3 separate regions of the Homo sapiens genome follow, and all the other regions are linked to region 1. The links are contacts of gene promoters, found by promoter capture Hi-C in human tissues and cell types (Jung and others, 2019). All regions are on one chromosome and are shown on one strand. The core of a region is centred on a gene start or on the middle of the fragment in contact, and the rest is flanking DNA. Distances in the headings are between cores, read along the strand shown.

The links. The method cuts DNA at HindIII sites, captures the fragments that hold promoters and counts their contacts. A contact is called where the count stands out against the background at its distance.
Region 2: a contact is called between the fragment with the promoter of ATP6V0C here and the fragment with the promoter of NDUFB10 in region 1, in 1 of the 25 tissues and cell types used here (dorsolateral prefrontal cortex).
Region 3: a contact is called between a fragment that was not itself captured here and the fragment with the promoter of NDUFB10 in region 1, in 1 of the 25 tissues and cell types used here (lymphoblastoid cells).

What each region holds. Positions count from the first base shown.
Region 1 is chr16:1,958,240-1,960,787 of GRCh38, forward strand. NDUFB10 (NADH:ubiquinone oxidoreductase subunit B10) reads left to right here and starts at 1,299. Exons shown (of 4, transcript NM_004548.3): 1 at 1,299-1,515. The coding sequence starts at 1,386. RefSeq lists an enhancer at 1-356 and silencers at 1,079-1,388, 1,819-1,928. The HindIII fragment of the contact is 2,906 bases long and covers 266-2,548 here.
Region 2 is chr16:2,512,510-2,516,050 of GRCh38, forward strand. It overlaps ATP6V0C (ATPase H+ transporting V0 subunit c), which reads left to right and starts at 1,443. Exons shown (of 3, transcript NM_001694.4): 1 at 1,443-1,673. The coding sequence starts at 1,595. RefSeq lists an enhancer at 1-253 and silencers at 1,159-1,638, 2,059-2,198. The HindIII fragment of the contact is 15,008 bases long and covers 1-3,541 here.
Region 3 is chr16:1,376,976-1,380,227 of GRCh38, forward strand. All of the region lies in intron 10 of UNKL (unk like zinc finger), which reads right to left. Among named protein-coding and RNA genes, the nearest start is that of GNPTG, 27 kb to the left of the region's middle. RefSeq lists silencers at 2,318-2,387, 2,458-2,507, 2,548-2,627, 2,658-2,797. The HindIII fragment of the contact is 4,164 bases long and covers 1-3,252 here.

The sequences.
Region 1 (2,548 bases), core at 49-2,548:
CTGGAGCAGGGGGCGGCGCTCGTCGGGGAGGTTCGGGCCGCACAGGAGCCCACGGAGTGGGGGAGGCTCAGGCATGGCGGGCTGTAGGTCCCGAGCCCTGCCCCGCGGGGAGGCAGCTAAGGCCTGGCGAGAGAAATCGAGCGCAGCGCCGGTGGGCCGGCCTGCTGGGGGACCCAGCACACCCTCCGCAGCCGCTGGCCCGGGTGCTAAGCCCCTCATTGCCCAGGGCCGGCAGGGCCGGCCAGGCTCTCCGAGTGCGGGGCCCGCCGAGCCCACACCCACCTGGAATTCGCGCTGGCCCGCAAAGCACCGCGCGCAGCCCCGGTTCCCGCCTGCGCCTCTCCCTCCACACCTCCCCGCAAGCTGAGGGAGCCCGCTCTGGCCTTGGCCAGCCCAGAAAGGGGCTCCTCAAGTGCCGCCAAAGTGGGAGCCCAGGCAGAGGAGGCGCCGAGAGCGAGCGAGGGCTCTGAGGACTGCCAGCACGCTGTCACCTCTCACTGTTTGTCTGTAGGGTTGATGGTTCTGTGTCGCTGGCCTCAACCTCAGGACAGGACATGACCAGTGTCCCCCCTGGATAGCAGCCAGGGGCCGTGCCAGGTGTGGAGACTGAAGATGTGGCCAGCAGGACCCTGCTCAGTGGAGCTGCCTAGAAGCACCAGAGTGCCCCAGGGCCAGGATGGAACCATCAAAGCCGGCCAGAGGGCCCTGTGCCCAGGGTAGGTGCCTTCTCCCTATGAGCCGCCTAAGGGCAAGCCCTGCCTCCTGGTCTGCTCCCTGCCCTCCCCCAGACAGGCTCCCAAGTTAACTGGCACCAGCCAGTCCATGAGGGGCCCTTGTAGAGAGCGGGGCCCAGAGAAGTCTGTAGGGACTAGGCAATCCAGGAAAGCTTCCTGGAGGAGTAGGGTGTTTGGAATCGCGTGCTATTTGTTCACTTTGTCGTGTGCGCTCTAACGGCCTGTGTTCTCCATCACAGTTTATCTTATTCCCTGCTGCACTCAGCACAGTGCCTGGCGCGCAGTGGGAACCGAATGACCCCCTCCTATTCCTTATGTCAGTTGCCTTTTGTCTGTTTCTTTCATCGTAAGCAGGAATCTGTCCGGTTCGCGGCTGCTTCCCAGGCGCCCAGACCAGCGACCAGCACCGCGTAGGCGCTCGGCACAGACCGAGAACGGAGGCCCCACGCGGGGGCGCCCTGCGGCGAGGCGGGTCCCGGCCGCGCCCGGCGGAGCCGGGGAACTACAAGTCCCATGGTGCATCGCGGCGCCAGCGCGCAGACGCAGCCGCCCTCGGCGTCCTCTGTAGCGGGCGACCTAGGCCGCGGGACCCGGACGGAGGTAGAGGCCAGGGCAGCGCGTCCGGGAGCGGAGTCCGCGCCCGCCGCCGCCATGCCGGACAGCTGGGACAAGGATGTGTACCCTGAGCCCCCGCGCCGCACGCCGGTGCAGCCCAATCCCATCGTCTACATGATGAAAGCGTTCGACCTCATCGTGGACCGACCCGTGACCCTCGTGAGAGGTACGAAGCCCCAGCCCGGGGCTCCCTCGCCGGCCTCTGGGGACCCCTGGATCCCACACCCTGCCTGGATCCTCCAATGCCTCCGGGGTCCCGTCTGCCTGAGACCGCCCCCCGCTGCACCCCGGGGACAACTCCCCACCCCCGGAGACCTCCGAGCTCCGTCGCCTCCTTTGGCCTCCCACTGCACCCCGGACCTCACCTCCCAGGATCCCTTACTCTCCCCTGCACCCCGGGATGCCCCGCTTCTTCCCAGGACTCTTCCCTCCCTGCCGCACCCAGCGCCCACTGCCCCAGGACCCCGCACTGCTCTCCGCCCCCCGCCGCCCCGGGCACCCCTCCACTGCACCGCTGGCCTCAGGCCTCTCTCAAATGTCTCTCTGCCGGATGACCAAGTGTCGGGGTGATGGCCGAGATGCCCAAATTCAGCATCTCTGGAACGAACCGGGAAAATGCCCAGTTCAGTTTTTGTTGTTTTTTTTTTTCCTGAGACAGTCTCACTCTGTTGCCCAGGCTGGAGTGCAGTGGCGCGATCTCGGCTCACTGCAACCTCTGCCCCACCCCGGGTTCAAGCGATTCTCCTGCCTCAGCCTCCCCAGTACTAGGATTACAGGCGCACCACCACCACGCCCAGCTAATTTTTATATTTTTAGTAGACACGGGGTTTCACCATGTTGGCCAGGCTGGTCTCGAACTCCTGACCTCAGGTGATCCTCCCACCTTGGCCCCCAGGTGCTGGGATTACAGGCCTGAGCCACCGTGTCCAGCCTGGTTCAGTTCTTTTTGAACACTTGGGGTGCATAGCATGCTCTGGTGGTTCTTCCGTAAGAGGGTGAAGTCTCCAAATCAAACCCCCAAAGATCTGGAAACCGTGCAACAGCGGACCCAGCTCCCTCTCTTTTGTAGCAGTTGTAGAGCATGTCTGTCCTATGTGTCTGGATGTTCGAGCTCTCCTTTTAGCTCGTTCATTTCCCAGTGAGGAAGCTGAGGCCGTAAGGTGGTAAGTTCTGCTTGCTGGAGGCTCCCTGTTGGAGCC
Region 2 (3,541 bases), core at 193-2,692, 550 kb after region 1:
TCACCAGTGACCTTGGCAAGGGCAAGGAGCTGGAGAGGGAAGGGCAGGTGAGGAGGTGGAGACAGAGTGAAGATTCGTCTTCTCAGAAACAAGGGCCGGGCAAGAAAGAGGGAGGAGCAGAAAGGGCCTCTGGCCGTATCTGTTGCCTCCTCTCCTTTGAACCAGGACAGACTTAGGGACTTTCACGGGCTGCAAGTTCCAAGAGTGGCAGACCCAGGCTAGCCTGGGGAAGGGGCTTGAGGGAGGCTCCTGCTGGGGAAGGTGGGGCTGAGTCCAGCAGGAGGGCCAGACCAGGGGCCATGACCCCATTGCCTACATAGAGAAGGTGATGAGCCAGCATCCAGGCTACTCAGGGAGAGCTCTAACCCAGGATGAGGCCTTAGAGCTCAAAGGACACTCAGGCCTGGTGGCAGCTGCCCAGGGCCCCTGAAAGGGGGAATGGAGATCAGGCAGAGGGGGTGCCAGGGACTGCCACACAGGATCAGTAGGGCAGCGCCAGCCCTGGCTGGGCTGCTTTCACGGCTGCGGGAACCGCTCCAACTGCTCCAGAAAGACAGAAAGATGGCCCTGAAGGTGCAGGCTTTGCGTGAGTGGGTGGCTGCAAGGACAGGTGGGAGGACCAGGACGCCAGAACGTGCAGAGCCCGGGGGGCCTCCAGAGGTCGCAGTTCCGACAGGGCTTCCACCAGTCATGCCTACATCTTGAGGGGCAGAGACACACCCCACTAATGTTTGGGTCCCTGATGCAAAGGCAGAGACAGGTGCGGGGAGGGGGTCCTTTTTCTCCGAAGCGAGAGGTGAAGTCACCAACTGCTGGGTCAGAGGCAGTAGGTCTGGGTCTGGAGGAGACTGGGGACAGGGTGGAGGGAGGTGACCGCAGCCACGGGCTGGGACTTCACAGGTGTGGGCTGGGGGCTTTTCCGGACGCTGTGGCAGAGGAGGCCCGCGCGCCGCACATCTGCTGGGACCCTTAGCTCGCCCAGGATTGGTAGGGAGATCCTGGAAGACCAGCGCCCGGAGGGGTGAGGCCCCGTCTTGGGGGCAAGGCCGCGAAACCACGGCCTGCAGCTTCACGCCAGGGGTACAAAGAAAAGCGTCGCCGGGAACCCAACACCTGCAGACGACGCGCAGCCGCAGAGGAGGCGGGGCGTCCGAGGCCCCGCCCCGTATGCTAATGAAGCACACACCACACCGCCCCGCCCCGGCGCGAGACCGGTCCAACGCTGCGGAGATCCAGAGGCCGGCGGCGCCCGGAAACACCCGCGGAGGCCGAGGCAGGGCGGGGCCGGGCGCCGGGGCCGGGTCGCTGGGCGGGCGGCACAGCCCGGGGGAGGTCAACGGGCCGGCCGGGCGTCCCGGGGACGCGTCTCCCCCACGGTGCGAAGTGGTACGGCTCGCAGGGGCGGGGCCCAGGTCATGTGACGCGGCCGCGGCCGCCATTTTGTTCTGCGGTGCTGGTATTTAGAGCGCAGCGGCTGACGGGCCGGATCGCCTTCGCCGCCGCCCGCCCGCAAACCTTCGTGCCCGGCCCGTCCTCGCCCCCGCCTCCGCCACCGCCTCGGCCCGCAGAGCTTGCCCCCTCCCCACCCGCAGACATGTCCGAGTCCAAGAGCGGCCCCGAGTATGCTTCGTTTTTCGCCGTCATGGGCGCCTCGGCCGCCATGGTCTTCAGCGGTGAGCGCGGCGGCGGGAGGGACTCGGGGGCGGGGGCGCGCGCGTTGCTCATGCCCGCAGCTCGCCGGGGTCCGGTGTGTGACGTCACTCTGACGTAATCCCGAGCTGTCGGGGGCGCCCGGGCCTCGTGTGACAGCGGGCGGGGGTCGGCGCCCCGAGGGCTGCGGGGAGCCGCCGGGGGTCCGGGGCGCAGGGCGTGCGGGCCTGGCCGGGGTGTGAGTCTCGGGGGTCCGGGCCGGCGGCCCTGCCAGCCGGGTCGTGCGGTTGCGGGGGTGGGGCGGCGGCGCCGCTGCCATATTAGCCCCGGGAGCGGCGAGAGGGAGGCTGGGGTGGGGGCGCGAGGGGGGCGGCGCGAGGGGGGCCGATTCTGCGGGCAGGTGACATCACACCTCGAAGGCCCCAGTGCGCGGGCGGCGGCGCGGGTCCGGCCCAGGAACGCCCAGCCGGTCGCTGGAGCTTTCCGGCTGGTGGGGAGCCCATGTCCCCCACGGGAGGTCCTCAGCCCTCGCCCTTATGGCGGCCGGCCCCGAGGGTCAGGTGGGTCTCACCCACAGGCAGGTACTTCCGGTTGGAGCTGGTTACAGTTGCCCAATACCCGTGTCGCTGTGTGGGCTGTTTGGGAAAGCTGGGCTGAGGGCTTGGTTCGGAGAGCCCGCGGAGACCCGGGTGGGAGTGTGTGGAAGTGGAGGGAGCGGGGAGACAGCAGCATCGGCGCTGGCGGGGCTGTGTAGCTTGCAGAGGGTCTGTGCTCTGAGGTGGGTGAGAGGGTGGCATGGGTGTCCGAGTTTATGGGATCCAGTCGTTGCCCTCAGGACTGAGGCTTCCAGTTGTGGTCCTAATGAATGGAGGGGTGAATGAATGACCTTCCTTTCCCTCCCTGAGGCCTGAAGTTGGGAGGGGCTTCCCTGGGCTTGGAGAAGGGGCCTTCTAGGGTTCTTGGTGGCACCCTGCTTTTGAAATTGGGCCTTGACAGGTCCTGGGCGTCCAATTTAGTGACAATTGGTCTCCCTGGGAGAATGGCACTTGGGCTAGGGCTAGGCCCAGGAATGTGGGTCCGACGAGTTAAGTTCTGGCCCAGTCTCAGCCTCCGTGGACTGGCCTGGCCTGGTCTGATTTCCGCCTCCGTGGTTAGGTCTGGTTTTAGCTTTGATGACCGTGCCCTGCCCCACCCTGCCTGGTGGCCTGGGGAGGCTCCTAGTGCAGATATGTGGAGGGTTTGAACTCCAAACAGTCTCTGCTGACTGTAAACACCTGTGGGGTGGGGGCTTGGAGCTCTCTGTTCTCTTGCGGGCCTCCTTCTGCCTGGGCCTGTCTGCCATTCGTGAGTGAGCCCTGGCCTTCCCGTCGTGTGCAAGTAAGGGGTCATTTGTGGTGGAAGAAGTGGTCTAGACTTCTCCTTCCCCCTAGGCACCGCCTGCTCTTTCCACAGACTCAAGGCTTCTCCCAACAGGCTGCCGAGCCCTTCCCCCCAGCCTCCTCTGTTCTTTGCCCTCAGAATGCCTTCAGAGATTCCATTTTGCCTGGCCACCTGTGGGGTATTAGCTTGTGGCTGTCACTCATTCATCCAAACAATCTTGATTGAGCGCTTACTATGTGCCAGGTACTGGTAGGACAGCAGTGAACAAAATGGGATCCCCGCCCATGTGGAACTTAAATTCTAGCTGTTGCTGCTTGCCCTTGAAGCCCTGAGTTTGTCCACCAAGCCCTTTTTCTGCACCCAGCTCCTTTCCTCTCTCTCCGTCAAGACCTACACAGGTCTTTGGGCAGCCTGACCAGCAGGTGTCTGGAAATTGAGAACACGGTATTGCTGGCCTAGGCCTTTCCTGCTTATCCCTGGCTCTTCGGGATAAACGTGGCTTACTGTGGCT
Region 3 (3,252 bases), core at 44-2,543, 580 kb before region 1:
CGTACCTAGGTGCGACGCCTGGGGTTCAGGTGCATCTTCCCCCGCCACACCCAGCCCCCCCAACCGAGATAGAGTCTTGCTCTGTCACCCAGGCTGGAGTGCAATGGCGCGATCTCAGCTCACTGCAACCTCCGCCTCCCAGGTTCAAGCTATTCTCCTGCCTCAGCCTCCTGAGCAGCTGGGACTACAGGTGCCCTCCACCACCCCCAGCTAATTTTGCATTTTTAGTAGAGACAGGTTTTCTCTATGTTGGTCAGGCTGGTCATGAACTCCCCACCTCAGGTGATCTGCTTGCCTCATCTCCCAAAGTGCTGGGATTACAGGTGCAAGCCACCATGCCCAGCCTCAAATGCAACTTTCAGGGGACACAATTCAACCCAGGACATGGGGGCCCACCTGCAGATGCCCCTGTTGGTCCTGCCCGTCCTCCCCAGGCCCCTCAGGACTCTGTATCAACAGATCTGGCCCCTGCTGTGCACAGCCCTCCCTCCCTGAGTCCTCCCTCAGAAAGGAGACCCCCCCTCTGCCTCCACTCCCCCTGCAGCTGTTTTCTGGGGCCTCCTCACCACTCACTCTGCCCACCGCTGCCCCGGGCCCTTCCCTCCAGCCCTGCGCCTGTGCCCTGAACTGCCTCTTGTCATAGGCACCAGCTTCCCTCCCAGGCCCACCCTCCTCCCTGAGGGCTGGCAGCCTCTCCTGTGGCCTGGACCCGCCCAACACAGTGGCTCTGCAGCCCCGAGCCCAGATGTCCAGCAGGGGCCAAAGCCCTTCCTCCTCCCTGGCAAAGGATCCCTTGCTTGTTCCCATGGCCCCACTGCAGGCCCTTCCCAGACACCACGTGTGCAGGGGCTGCTGGAAGCTGGCACTGCAGGATCCCTTCCTCATGGGCTGCTCGCTCAACCCACACCCCCTGAGGCCCATGCCCAGCCTGCCTTCATGCATTGCAATAGTAACCTTCCTACCAAGAAAAGCCTCATTGCATCCTGAATCCTGACCTGCAAGAAAGGAGGAAGCTTGTGCCCTTGCGCGTGCCGGTCACCGCTTCCCAATGGGTCCTTTGCCGGGCTCCTAACCTGCTGTGCCACTGCAGGCTCAGCCTGGCTGTGCCTTCCATTCAGTAAGATCAGCCACACCAGTCCCCAGAAAGCTGCTCGGCCTCCAAGCCCTGCATGGAATGCCCCCCACTACATCCTTGCAGGTGTCAGCCTGAACCATGTCAGGGCCCTGGACAGACTCACTGAGGACAGGCACCGACCCCCCAACCCGCAGGCCTGCCCACAGCCCCCTCATGCTCCCATACGGGGGCTTGATGACGGGCAGGGCCAAGCGGTTTGCCCATAGTCAGGTCAGCCAGGCTCGGGAACCTGGACCTGCCCTCTGCACCCAAGTCCCAGGATCAGGATATGGCAGCCCCTTCAGAGCTCACCGCCCCTCACACCTGGCAGAGATCCAGAAACTCCTCATGAAAATCAAAGACGCAAAGAAGTTGGGGGACAGGAACGGAGGCGCCTTTTCTCCCCTTGGAGTGGGGTGATCCCACCAGGCTCCGTGCTAAGTCGGCAGAAGCTTCACCCACCAGCTGCAGAGTGCGCAGCATGTGGAGGGGCTAAGCTGCCTTCAATGCTCACCCGACAAACTACGGCTCGCACTCAACTCAGAGGGCGTCAGCCACCACCTACCTCAGCCAAGTCACCTGTGCTGAAGCCCGGGAAGCTGCCTGGAGAGGGGACGTTCAGGGAGCGTGTGGGTGCCCCCGAGAGACTCCGGCCCCGCTTCAAAGCCAAGTGCCCCTCATCCAAAGAGAGCACCGGAGAGGGTCCTGGAGGCTCCACCACCCCTAGGGTGCTATCTAGGGCTCACTCCCAGAAATCAAGGGGGGAGACGGCTGCTGCACCGTCCTGGCCCACTTTCTCACCCGCAGCTTCTCCCCCACCTCACCTCACTGTTTCAAGGTTAGACCCAGATCTTCTGAAACATTCTCAAAGAAAGAGCTGACCCTTGTGCAGAGGCAAAATCTAGGTGAGGCTGGTCACCTAAGCGAGTACAGCTGGGTCAGGCCAGGCTGCCTCAGCCCCGGGCGTTAGGAAACCACCGGCCCCGCTGAGTCACCGCGACACAGCCCGGCTCTGCCGTGACACAGCACATTCAAGGCGCCGCGGTCCCCCGGGGTCAGGGACACGCGAGGACAAGCTACAGACTGCTCGGAACTCAGGACAGGGCGGGGGAGCCGCCGACGCCAGGGAAATTCCCGTACCACGCGGGCTGAGTGCAGGCGGGCCAGGCCAGGACGCAGGGGTCGGCCCTCCCCCGCCCCGTTCCCCTGCCCTCTCCTGCCCCGCTCCGCTCCGCTCTCCTGCCCCGCTCCCCTGCCCTCCCTCGGGGCACCGACCCCGCCTAGCTAGGGGACGCAGGCGGCCCGAGCCCGCGCTGGGAAGCGGCGAGCGCCCGGCAGAGGCAGGTTCCGAGAAGGCGACGCCTTCGCCTCGCTCCGGGCCTCTGAGAAGCCCGGGCCCACCCCGCGGCTGTCACACCCGGCTCCGTGACGCGGGGGACGCACCTGGCGGGGGGCGCACCTAAGGGAGGGCCCGCTCCTGACCGCCGAGTAACGAGACCCGCACCTTGGCGGCGCACGGCTGCCACGCGCTGGGGCCGCCGCCAATGCTGACTCACGGTCCGCGGCCGCCCCGCGCCGCCGCCGGGGATTCAAACCCGGCCCGCGCCCCGCCCCCTCCGCGCTGGCCCCGCCCCGCAACGTGACTCGGCCCCGCCCCCGTCGCACTGGCCACGCCCCCCGCGCTGCCCTCCCCCAACCTTCCCCCCGACTCGGGCGCACCCGGTCCCCGCGGCTCCTGGCTACGAGCTGGGCGGGCAAGTGGGCGCGGGCAGCGGGGGCCAGAGGTCTTCAGGCAGAAAGCCCCAGAGCTGCCCCGCTGCCCGGCTCCTCCTGCCCTGCCCACCTGCACCTGCAGCTGCTCCGGGCGGACTCAGGTGAAACACGGTCGACCCAACAGGGGCGCTCGCGGGGCGGGGCGGCGTGAGCTGGGGCCGCTGCCTGCCCTGCAGGACCCTCCTCCCTCCCAAGTCCGCGTGCCTGCCCAGCCCCATCTAAACGCGGGGTACGGAGCTCGCAGGTCTCTCTTAATCTGAAACCTGTTCCTATGAAGTGTAAGATGAAGGAAAATGGAACCTATCAGATGGGTCTGAAATGATCCCACTAAAAATCCCTTAAATACAGAATCCGCTCATTTCTTC